Regions from separate parts of the Homo sapiens genome. Here region 2 is linked to region 1. Evidence: promoter capture Hi-C in 16 types of primary human blood cells and fetal thymus (Javierre and others, 2016). All regions are on one chromosome and are shown on one strand. The core of a region is centred on a gene start or on the middle of the fragment in contact, and the rest is flanking DNA. Distances in the headings are between cores, read along the strand shown.

The links. Contacts are between HindIII fragments. The CHiCAGO score rates a contact against its expected background, and 5 or more counts as called.
Region 2: a fragment that was not itself captured here is called in contact with the fragment with the promoter of ANKRD44-AS1 in region 1 in 2 of 17 cell types (non-activated CD4 T cells and fetal thymus); the score reaches 5.6 in non-activated CD4 T cells.

The regions. Positions count from the first base shown.
Region 1 is chr2:197,196,579-197,199,278 of GRCh38, forward strand. It overlaps ANKRD44-AS1 (ANKRD44 antisense RNA 1), which reads left to right and starts at 1,413. Exons shown (of 2, transcript NR_135584.1): 1 at 1,413-1,511; 2 at 2,340-2,695. All of the region lies in intron 1 of ANKRD44 (ankyrin repeat domain 44), which reads right to left. RefSeq lists an enhancer at 2,459-2,528. The HindIII fragment of the contact is 4,177 bases long and covers 1-2,610 here.
Region 2 is chr2:196,163,621-196,166,320 of GRCh38, forward strand. The region is part of intron 1 of STK17B (serine/threonine kinase 17b); the gene reads right to left. Among named protein-coding and RNA genes, the nearest start is that of STK17B, 6.6 kb to the right of the region's middle. The HindIII fragment of the contact is 1,306 bases long and covers 753-2,058 here.

The DNA of each region.
Region 1 (2,700 bases), core at 163-2,662:
GTAGAAATGAAAGGTACTCTCAGAAAGGTGGCAATCTCCTGCTACATTTGAGGAGGCTGGAACTACTGTATACAAGATATATGGATTAACTCAGTCACATTAAATCATTCATGATTTAGGCAACTCCAGATTGGGTTTGTCTAAAATCTGTTAGCACCTGGGTTCTTTCCAAACACCAGCAAGCAATTTTTACACAATCAGGTCTTTCCAAAGCCCATGACAATTTTCCTTTAAACCCTCTCCTTCCCTTCTACTGTTCTTTTCTTTGAATTCCACGTGCATTCTTGGAAAGACAGCAAGCAGTTAAACTCTCACCACCTCTCCACAGGTGAGGGACTAGGGACATGTGTAAAACGGAGTCACCTTCCTGTTCTGGCCATTGTCAATTTTTTTTTTCCTAAGGCATCTTGTTATAGCAACCATTCTAAAATTGTTATAGCAACCATTCTAAAATTTAAGGCAGTGGGTTGATCAGGACCTGAATTAGTTTCTGCCTGAGATGACTGGAAGGTCCCCTACTCCCTCCCCAGCCAGAAAAAGTCACATGGAATGAAAATCTATTAGAGAATCCCCTCAGTGTAGTCTTTCAGGAAGCATCTTCTCATTTCCCCATCCAAAATCATGGTAAGGACATCCAGTGACAGATGTCAAAGGGAAAGGATAAGGCAGCAGGAAGAGAGAGGAGCCTAAGAGACTGGAAAACATTCGATAATATAAAATGGGAAAATGGGAAATTCTGCAAAAAAAAAGAAGTCATATCATATTTCCTTTCACAGACACCAACCCAGTGCGTAGCTCCTTTATTTCTTTACACACTACCCCCTCCAACAGGGGATAAAAGATATGTTTTCTAAAACTTAATTTGGTACATTTCAGATAACCACATTCAATTCAACAAAGATGTATTAAGCATAAGACATTTACTGAGCATAAGAAATTCAGACACTGGAGGCCGGGCGCAGTAGCTCATGCTTGTAATCCCAACACTTTGGGAGACCAAGGCAGGCGGATCACTTGAATCCAGGAGTTCCAGACCAGCCTAGACACATGGTGAAACCACATCTCCACTAAAAATGCAAAAATTAGCTGGGCACGGTGGCGCACACCTGTAGTCCCAGCGACTCGGGAGGCTGAGGTGGGAGAACCAACTGAGCCCAGGAAATTGAGGCTGCAGTGAGCCATGCTCACACCATTGCACTCCAGCCTGGGTGACAGAGTGAAATCCTGTCTCAAAAAAAAAAAAAAAAAAAAAGAAAGAAAGAAACACAGAAAAAGAAAAAGAAAGAAAGAAATTCAGACACTGGAATGTCAGAGTCAGTCTCTCCCTTGATGAGGTTACCAAGGTGTAACAGGAAGTATACAAATACGCACAGCTAGAATGTAAGGCACAGGCCGCAGGAGAAGTGCATGGAGAAGGGAGAGAAATTGTACCTGGCCTCCTGAAAGACGCAGCCTCTGAAATGAATATTGAAGACTGGGGAGGATTTAAACAGGTAGAGACGGATGGAATGGTAAGGGACTTTCCCTTCTTCATATTCAGAAGGCTGTGAGCAGAAGCTAGGGAGCCTGAACATACACAGGGAACAGTTTCATTTGGCTGGAGGAGGGGAGAAGTGAGGTAAGCTGAGTAGTAGACAGGGATCCTATCATGGAAGGTCTTGAATACCAAGCTAAGAAATTTGAGCTCTCTTCTGTGGAACTGGGGGAGCAGTGGGTGGTTTTTGAGCAGGGGAGTGACCTAAGATTTGTGCTTTAGAACAATCACTCTAAAAATGGATTGTATGATGACCTGGAGGAAAAGGCTGGAGTGTCATAACAAGTTAGGAAACTGCAATAATAGTCTGCACAAAGGGCTCTGGGGATGGAGTACCGCTCAGTTGTCAGAGGAAGCATTCTTCTGGTGGTAATATGTGAATCTAAAAGGTAAATTTGACCGGGCATGGTGGCTCACGTCTGTAATCCCAGCACTTTGGGAGGCCGAGGCAGGTGGATCACCTGAGGCCAGGAGTTTGAGACCAGCCTGGCCAACATGGTGAAACCCCGTCTCTACTAAAAATACAAAAAATTAGCCAGGCATGGTGGCGTGCCCCTGTAATCCCAGCTACTCGGGAGGCTGAAGCAGGTGAATCGCTTGAGCCCGGGAGGTGGAGGTTGCAGTGAGCTGAAATCGTGCTACTGCACTCCAGCCTGGGCGACAGCAAGACTCCATCTCGAAAAATAAAAAATAAAATAAAATAAAATAAAATGTAAATCTAGCTCCACCTTTAATGTAGCAAGGGCTAGCCTCCTCAGGAGTGGCTGCCTACATTCAAAACGATTCTCACCAACTTCTTCCACAGGACACAGGGCTCGGGAGCAGCGCCAGCCCGACATCGGCGGAGGAGCACCGGAAGTTCTGCAGCACTGGCTTTCTTTGCTCTTCCACCTATGCAAGCTCCTTCTCTCTTGTGGCTTGCCGAGCCTGGTTAGCTCTGAGACCGGAAGTTCTGAAGTCAGCTGGCATCCTACATCTGTGCAACCTACTTCTCTCCCCATCCCACCACAGAAACCAGAGCCTCGAGGCTTTTGGCTTGGGTGCTGCCTTCACAGTTTAGGTTTTGGTAAGAAGAAAGCTTATCTTCATGTCATGAGAAAGAAAAAAAAATGTATCTTTACGTAACGAGCTGAAAGAACAAAACAAGTATACCTAAGCCAAGTACA
Region 2 (2,700 bases), core at 156-2,655, 1.0 Mb before region 1:
TTACTGACTTCATTTCAGAATAAAACTACGGTAAAAATCCTCTCAATTTAAAAAAAATAGTTATGATAAAATTATAATGCAAACAATCACTTAGTTTCATCATAAAACTCCATTCTTTAAAGTTATAGAGGTTTCAGCTGGACATGGTGGTATACGCCTATAATCCCAGCACTTTGGGAGGCTGAGGCAGGAGGATCACTTGAGGCCAGAAGTTCAAAACCAGTCCTGGCAACATAGCGAGATCCCATCTCTATGAAAAAATTTAAAAATTAACTGGGTGTAGTGGCTCGCACCTGTAGTCCCAGCTGCTTGGGAGGCTGAGGCAGGAGCATCACTTGAGCCCAGAAGTTTGAGGTTGCAGTGAGCTATGAATGTGCTACTGCAGTTCAGTTTGGGCAATAAAGCGAGATCTTATCTCAATAAATAAATAAATAAATAAATAAATAAATAAATAAAGTTATAGGTTTCACATAATAGGTAATTTAATACGACAAGATAATAATTATTCATTTTAAACTTATTTTCACATGGCTAAAGAAATTTGGTGGTAAATGCACATATTGTGAGTTATATTACTGACGTGAAGGACTACAAGAAATAGAACTTCTTCCACGGATTGGCTATGTTTCAGTACTAAACTCAGAAACTCTCAAAGGTCTTAAGAGTCCCTCCTTTGACAGGACCTAGCACAGAGCCTGCTATGTATGAAGTGCTCAATAATTTTGTTGGAAGAGTGACTAACCTATACATAAAGCTTTATTTCGAAGTTCTGTATCTGAAGCTCATATATGTATCTGGAAATTTGTGATGTTTATATGCATTCAGTGTTATCAAAACTATTATATTAATTGCATTCATAAAACAATAACAGATACTATATTTCAAGACACTTATGACTTATTGCTATGCCTACTTAATAAAATATCAATTATTATTCTTTTAGCACCCTCCTGTAGTAACCCGCTAAGCATTTGTTCCTCCTCTGACATCTTTTTTTCCTATTTTCTACTTATATGTACTGTTCTTTATCTTCTTAAATTCAAATGCCAACTATAGTCTACTTAGCCAAAAAGCAGTGTCATTAGAGTTCAGCGTTTTCAGTTTCTACATTTTCTCTTCTTGGTGTTATTCTCAAATTATGAACGCGTCACTGCAGTTCAGCCTGGGCGATAGATGGAGACCTTGTCTCAAAAAATTAAATTAAAATTATAGCTTTCACATAACTAGATAGTAAAATTGTTTTCTCTACATCTCTTAGTCTTTGGGGAAACAGCTCTAACTAGTTTTGGGGTACATCTCTAGGAGTCAAAGGGTTGTAGTGTAGCATTCTGAGAATAACCTTTAGACTGAAAGACACCTGGGTCTGAATTCCATTCATCCATCATACCAGCTATGAGACCTTAATTAAATTATTTAACTTTGCTATTGTTATGGGCTGAATTGTGTCCTCCCCCAAATTCCTAAGTTGAAAAACCCTAACCCCTGTATCTCATAATGTGACTGTCTTTGGAGACAGGGCCTTTAAAAAGGTGATTAAGTTAAAATGAGGTCATTAAAGTGGGCCAATTAGGACACAGACACACACAGAGGAAAGACTATGTGAACACACTAGGAGAAGGCAGCCATCTACAAGCCAAGAGGGCAGGCCTCAGAAGAAACCAACCCCGCAGACACCCTGATCCCAGATTTCTAGCCTCCAGAATCGTTGAGAAAATATACTTCTGTTAAGTCGCCTGATCTGCGGCAACACAGTTATTTAAAAAGAAAACAAAATATATAATATTTCAAATGTAAGATAAGGAACACTATATACAAACATTTACTTTCCAATCTTATTACTTGGTCATATTTCATTTAAATTAAAAATAAAACATATTAGACATAGCCCCTTCTTTCCACCCCCAGTTTACACTCCCACTAGCACTGGATGGGACGGTTTATCACTACTTTGACAATACTTGCCCAATTCAGACTTTTAAGTTTGGCTATTCTAGTGTGATGAAGGTGAAATGGAATTTTGTTGTGATTTACTTCGCATTCCCTTTTACTGGTGAAGAAAGCTTCGATTTTGCTGCCTCTAAAGTATGGATGATAAAAGAATTGATCTTCCAGTGCTGCAAGGATTAAAAATTAAAATATGCTGAACTCATGTCCACTGACACAGGTACAGTGCAAGTCACAAGGGCATATCGCTATTGTTCCACAAAACAAAATTAACATTCTACCCAAAAATACTCTCCCTGCAGTTCCCTGCCATTGTTGAACAGCTGTACTGTTTCCATGTACAAAATTCTCATCCCAACTTAGTCTAAACTTCATTCTTAAAAGTATTTTTGTTTTCTGTTTTAACTACTTATGTATCTTCTTAGTTCTGATAGCGCTCAGTTTCACTGATTTTTTTCCATTGTTCTGAAAGATCAATATGGGTACCAATTTCCTCATAAGTTCATCTATTTATTAAAAATATACCTACATCACAAGCTGCTTTAGGCATCCATTAAGCATTTCTTAAGTTCATTTTCCTTTTATTTACTGCATCTGAACCAATTGTCAGAGCCAAGATATTTTTCCATTTCCTCTCCTTTGGCCAGTTTTGCATATAGTGGAGCATGAATGTCACCTTTGTCCACCAAGCCCTCCTCAAACATCTGGTTGCCCTTCATATAAGGTACATGCAGGTTATGAGTCAGCTCTCTGTCG